Regions from separate parts of the Homo sapiens genome. Here region 1 is linked to region 2. The links are contacts of gene promoters, found by promoter capture Hi-C in human tissues and cell types (Jung and others, 2019). All regions are on one chromosome and are shown on one strand. The core of a region is centred on a gene start or on the middle of the fragment in contact, and the rest is flanking DNA. Distances in the headings are between cores, read along the strand shown. Region 1 overlaps LINC02105 (long intergenic non-protein coding RNA 2105). Region 2 holds the start of FST (follistatin).

Region 1 (3,253 bases), core at 5-2,504, 310 kb before region 2:
ATCTCCTCTCTCCTGCCATGCAGACTGGCTTCAATCTCCTCAACATCACTTCAGTCAACTCTAGTCTTAGGCTTTGACATAATGTAACCGCCCAACATGTTCACCTTGCCTGCTGCCTAGAGAGAGCTGATTTATGAAGACAGGGGAATTGCAAAAGAGAAAGAGTAATTCACAGAGCAAGCTGTGCGGGAGACTGGAGTTTTATTATTACTCAAGTCAGTCTTACTGAGAACTTGGGGATCAGAGTTTTTCAGGATAATTTGGTGAGTAGGTGGGTCAGTGAATCGGGAATTCTGATTGGTCAGGTCTGAGATGAACTCATAAGGAGTTGAAGCTGTCCTCTTGCACTGAGTCAGTTCCTGGGTCAGGGTCACAAGACCAGATGAGCCAGTTTATCAGTCTGTGTGGTGCCAGTTGATCCATCAAGTGCAGGGTCTGCAAAATATCTCAAGCACTGATCTTAAGTTTTACAATAGTGATATTATCCCCAGGAGCAATTTGGGGAGATTCAGAATTTTGTAGCCTCCAGCTGCGTGACTCCTAAATCATAATTTCTAATCTTTTAGCTAATTTGTTAGTCCTGCAAAGGCAGTCTAGTCCTCAGGCAGAAAGGGGGTTTGTTTTGGGAAAGGGCTGTTAACATCTTTGTTTCAAAGCTAAACCTAAACTAAGTTTCTCCCAGAGTTAGTTTGGCCTATAGCCAGGAATGAACAATGACAGCTTGGAGTTTAGAAGCAAGGTAGAGTTGGTTAGTTCAGATCTCTTTCACTGCCTCAATTATAATTTTGCAGTGGCGGTCTCAACAATGTGATGCTGTATCTTTAAGAGAGAAAGTAAGTCACAAAATAAAGTATAACCTATATTTGCAATGATAATTGAAATGAGGTTGCTTTGGTATAGTGAAGACTAATTTTTCACTTCATTTTCCATTTTACGGCCCATCAGTAACTTCCTGTATCTTCTTTTTGGCAGACGTCCTTGACCACAGAGGAGAAACTGGCAATTTAAAAACAGCCAGATATCTGGTGCTATTTCAAAGTTATAATAGAGACCTGTGATACCTTGCTGTGGTGTTGGACTTAGTTTATGTCTTCCATCTCCCTTTGGTAGACAGAAGAATTAGTCTGGTTTATGATGAATTTTGTATATGTTTACTGGAAAGTGTTCTGCCTTAAAGAAAGTTTTCGTAATAGCCAAAAGCACATTGCAGGAAGATGCCCTGCATAGACCTGTGTGTGCTTGTAAGTGGCAAGTTTCAGACATCAGAGAATGTGGCTTTCTCTTGTGTTTGAAAGTACAGAGAGTTTTATGGATTCCCAGATGCTAGGCTAAGGACGATTAATATATAGTCTGTTGGCCTCAGTCATCTCTAGCTATTCATCACCCGATGATACACTCAACCATGTTCATGAGTTTAAAGAATCAGAAAGTCAGAAAAGGGTAAGGGCAAATGATCTGAAATATATCAATGGAAGCTCATTTCTAATTGGTGCTATCGTTTAGGTTTATGACAGGTTCTTCATAAACCACTATGTGTGTGTAAAACACATCAGAGACTTCTCACACCAGAGCAAACCAGACTAGACAGAGTTATTTCACACAGTAATCACCAAACATTCCTATCTTTTAAATATAAGGAGCCAATCTATTGTAACCTCCTCTGCAAACACTGTTGTATTTATTCTTTCTCTTTTAATGCTTGACACTTAACCTGAATGGCTTCTTTTATGTATTCAGTTTGAAAAAACAGGATATAGAAAGCATCATTTGATTTTTAAATTTCCATTCCTGGGTAGATGTTTTGGTTATTAAAAAATAGCTCAACCCTATTTGTTTGAGACATATATGCAGGTAAATGGGTACATTTAGGGATTTATTTATTTATTTATTTTGTCTTTCTATTTCCCTGTCCACATTTGTGCTTGTAGATCTGTGTCTCTGGAGATCCCTTTGCTCAGCCATCAGATCAAGCAGGCATCCATGGTTCAGAATGGTAAGCAAGACCATGCAGTTAAAAAAAAAAAAAAAAAAAAGTTGGTGAGCAGGAAGAATATATAGGCACCATGAGTCTGCACTGAACAGAGCAGGAGCAGCTTGTCCAGGGAAGTCAGAGTCGCACCAGGGGTGTAGCTGGAGCATCTACCACAGGATGGTTGTGTCTGCCAGGGTCACTAATTATTTTGCAGTCAGAAAGTGCCTGGTGAAAGGCTTAAAGGAGAAATTCAATGCAGTTTCCTTTTATCTGCCTCTCCAATTGATGTCTATACAGAGCAAACAGGGCTCCCCAAACACGCCAGTCTGTTTCAGATACACAAGATTAAGTAGCTAGTGACATTCAAGACCAATCGGCCCACCCAGGAGGATTGAAACCAGTGGAAAAGCTGTCAGATTTCGCCTTTTCTCCATTAATCTTAAAGCTTTTCAGTGGTGCCAGGTCGCATCTCCATCAGACAAGCTGAGAAGAGTGTCCCGCAACTTTCTACACCCCCCACCCCCACACCAAGGAGAGTAACCCCTTCATTGCTGAGCTGATCTCTTAGGATATAGGGGATTCTTTTCACGGCCAGGAACAGATCTTCACTGGCTCCACTGCTTTTCAATACTGGAGGAAGCTGGGAGCAGAAGGCGGGGTCTTTCTTCCTTACAAGTTCATGGCTGGTCCACTCCCTGGAGGCTGTGCCACACAGACCCCAGAGATCAGCTGCCCTTGAGAAGAGATGGCTTTAGGGGTGACCGTGGGACAGCTAAGGAAACAGGTGTTCCCCTAGTAGTCTGGAAGCTTCACCTACCTGACACAGTGTGTGGAAAGAGAGAGGGAAAGCTAGAGGGAGAGAACACAGGGAAAGATGAGAGAAAAGAAGAAAGAAGGTGTAAATAAAGAGAATGAAGTGCGAATTTGTAACGGTCCTTTCCCCATGCCTCATTTTAAATCCCTTTGGAAGCAGGTGATGACCTGGGCAAGAGCTCACCAGTAAGGAGCAAAGGGGCCCGCCTGCCACTCTTAAGCAGAGCGCCTGCTGAATCAGGATTTCCAAGGCTCCGGCTGAGTGCCTGGCTGGGGGCTGTGTGTGCAGATGCCACAAGATGGACAAGACTGAGGACGCAGGTGAGCATTTCTCGGTGCAGTCAGGAGTGGGAGAGGCCTGTGGCTTCCAGAAACCCAGCTTTGCCTTTGAAGACAGAACTCAGAGAACTGCTGGCTGGAGGGAGCCAGGGTCTTTTCCTGCTTTCTAGTTACCCCTGAGAGCCTTTT
Region 2 (3,282 bases), core at 771-3,270:
GCGAGAGGGAGGGAGGGAGAGAGGGAGAAGACAGGGCGCCCCAGCCATATCAATGTCAGTTACCAGTGACCCAGACACAACACGTGCAGCTTGCATTGACTTTTACTAGACTGTTTACTTTTATTCGTCCCATTTCATAACCTGCAGAGACTCGAAGAGCAGATTAAAGAACCTGACAAAAACAGGATGCGACGGATGTTTTTACATGCTGGTTTCATGTAGGCGGGTACAGGAATTATTTGTGACAGGGGTTAAGAAAGTAAGAGAACGAGAGAGAGGAGAGAGGAGAGATGGAGGGGAGAGAGAGGGAGAAGGAAAGAGAAAGAAAGAAAGAAAAGAAAGAAGAGAAAGAAAGAAAAGAAAGAGAAAGAAAGAAAAAAAGGAAGAAAGAAAGAGAGAGAGGAAGAAAGAAAAGAAAGAGAGAGAGAGAGAAACAGATCAAGCAAAAGGCACTTCTGAAAAATGAAAGCAAAAAAGCAACCCGGCCCAGCCCGGAGCTACCCCGCGCGGCCTCCAGGCGCAGCCAGCCCGACGGGCCCGTTTTGCAATCCGCCAGACCGGAGCACGCCCGCGGCCACCGCGATCTTTCGAAATCTCCGAGGGCTGCTTTCCTCCGCGCCCACGTCCGGGCACCAGGCAGAGCCTCTCCTCTAAAGGCGGGCAACCCAGCGCAGTGCCATGCAGACGGCGAGGGGCAGTGCCCAGGAGGGCAGTTTACAACATACTTAAAATGTTAACGCTGAAGCAGGGAAAGTAATGCCTTAAGGTGGGGGGAGGGGGGAGTCTTCCTACCATTTCACGGTTATAAGTACCTATCTCATACCTAGCAAGAAATATTTGCAAGTGATTTCTCCCTCTTCCCCCTTTTTAATGTTCGGATTTGGGTCGAGAAGACTTCTCATGAATCACCAATATGACTTTAACAATCATTGGATCGCAAGCTGCTATTATTATTTTAAACATTCTGCCCAAAGACTAATTGAAATAAACAAATCTATTTTTAAAAGGCAAGCTTCAGAAATTTGCTCTTAACCCATTTCAGAATTTAAGTCAGTTATGGGCTGCTCACTGTTTTACAGAAAGCTAAGGGTCAGAAAGAAGAATGAGGCAGAGGGGAAAAAAACTGTAAAGTGCTCAAAGCACTTTGGGGTAATAATTTGGCTTTTTTTTTTTTTTTTTTTTTTTTGCGAGAATGGGGGATGGGGTTGGAAGAAGCATCCACTAGGCAGAAAGCTACTTCCCTTGAAAATCTTCAGCACCCACATTTCCAAGTTTGGGCAAAGTTTCTGAAACCACGTCCCCCAGCCACCAAATAAAATTCAGTATCTCTCCCCCAAACCCCCAGGTTTTCTTTTCTTTCTTTCCTTTTTTTTTTTTAAGTATCCAAAAGATGTGGGAGGGAGAGAGATGAGACTGCAAATGGGTCGACTGAAATCTCCAGGCTACTACTGATACTTGTTCCCTTCTTCAGAGCCAAACAGAGGAGATCACATCTAAAGTTATCATGGCCAGAACTTGGAGCATTTAACCCTAACTACTAAGACCCCAGCTCGCTCCCTTTCCTTTTTCAAGATAACCGAGCTCCAAACTCAGTTCCCAGTCCTAAAGTGTCATTGCCTACAATTTTCCCACTCCTCTCCATCCCGGAGTCCCCAAGTTGGTTCAACATCTTCCGAGAGCAGCGTTGCTCAGAACAGACCAAGTGGAGACCACAGAAAAGTCGACCCCCCTGTCCTCAGCCAAGCCTCCCCAGCGCATCCCCACTCGCTTACCCTGGGCACTGCGGTCCTCCATGAACTGGCAGAGCAGCAGCAGCAGGAGGCAAAGCCCACCCGGCTGGTGCCTCGCGCGGACCATCCTGGGGGCAGGCGCGGGGCGAGGAGCGCAGCGGCGCGGGGAGCCGGCGCGGCGGCGGGTGGCTCGGGCGAGCGGCGCGCGTCGCAGAGGCCAGCGGCGGAGGGCGCAGCGATCCCGGCGCAGCCCCGCGCTCGCCGCCGGCCGCCCGCGCGATTCAATGGACGTCAGAAGCCGGGCGCAGCCGCGCTTTAAATCTAGACGGGGGTCTCCGCGGTTTGCGGTGGGCGGTCTCCCAGTGTGTGGGGCTGTGGGAGGGCGGCCGCGAGCGAGGGTGTGCGCGGCTCCTTGGGGGTGGGGAGCTTTCAAAAGTTCAGTGTGAATCAGGTGACATTTCCCACCTTCTGGAAACCCTTCCCAATTATCTTTCGGAGGTGCCCGAAATCAAAACGGCTGGAAGGGAATCGTCGAGTTCTTATTTGCGTAGGAGCGAGAGGGAGGGGGAAGGCGACCGGGGCGGGGGTTGGGGGCTACGCGTCGGGGGTGGGGAGTGGGGAAGAACACCCACTTCAAGTCCTGCTCGCCGCCGCTCGCCGGCAGCGCCGGCGCGCCCGGGGTGGCGGGTGTGTGTGTGAGTGTGTGTGTGAGTGTGTGTGCGCGCGCGCGCGAGTGTGAGAGGGAGGGCGCGGTGGGGGCGCTGGAGGCGGTGGCGGGGGGAACCCGGGAGTTTGTCTCCGTGCTGCCTCTCCTCCGCTCCAAAGAGACTTTTGCAAACGGCCGAAGAGCCCCGGGCTGCCCAAATATCCCGCCCCGGGTCGGGTCGGAGCGCGCCGGCCTCGCGGCGGTTCCGGGCACCCGCAGCCTGGGCGCGGGACCCGCGAGGTTTTGTGTCTGGGTCTGTGAGTGCCTGACTTTGCAGCCACCCCCAGCCCAGAGGTGTTGCTAGGAACCCCGGCCCCGGCACCTTCCACCCTGGCAGAGCGCTACCGAGACGCGGCCCTTCGTCTGGACTAGTCGGAAGCAAACAAAAATGTTTAACACCTCAGGCCCGGTCTCCCCGCGGCACAGCCTCGCCCTCTCCCTTTCTTTTCTCCCCTTTCACTTCGCGGCGTCTGGAGTCGGAGCCCGGAGCGGGGGCGCCGACGTAGGCGGTCTGGCCCCCCCTTCCTCTCCCGCCTGGAGACTCCCCAGTTTCTGTCCTGTGTGCCTCTGTCTGTCTCTCAGTCTCCTCGGCTCCAATCTCTCTCTCTTTCTGTCTCGTCTTCTCTCTTTTCGCGGAATAAAAAAGATTGCAACATCCATAATGAACTTCTGTAGCCTCAGTTTATTAAGTACAGTGCCTGGCATTCTTCGCTGAAAGTTGGCGGGTCTCTCATTTATAACATTTTTGGCACCGCTGAATGAAACTGAGGAGGCGATATTTCCTTTTATATAAAACGATTACTTCACGGAAAATGCTATATTGTTTATTCCAAAGCTGCCTTTTAA

Evidence for each region. The method cuts DNA at HindIII sites, captures the fragments that hold promoters and counts their contacts. A contact is called where the count stands out against the background at its distance.
Region 1: a contact is called between a fragment that was not itself captured here and the fragment with the promoter of FST in region 2, in 1 of the 25 tissues and cell types used here (spleen).

Annotation. Positions count from the first base shown.
Region 1 is chr5:53,783,820-53,787,072 of GRCh38, reverse strand. It overlaps LINC02105 (long intergenic non-protein coding RNA 2105), which reads left to right. Exons shown (of 4, transcript NR_147168.1): 2 at 1,929-1,993; 3 at 2,943-3,106. Among named protein-coding and RNA genes, the nearest start is that of LINC02105, 34 kb to the left of the region's middle. The HindIII fragment of the contact is 6,838 bases long and covers 1-3,253 here.
Region 2 is chr5:53,479,367-53,482,648 of GRCh38, reverse strand. FST (follistatin) reads right to left here and starts at 2,020. Exons shown (of 6, transcript NM_013409.3): 1 at 1,773-2,020. The coding sequence starts at 1,857. RefSeq lists an enhancer at 718-787. The HindIII fragment of the contact is 11,038 bases long and covers 1-3,282 here.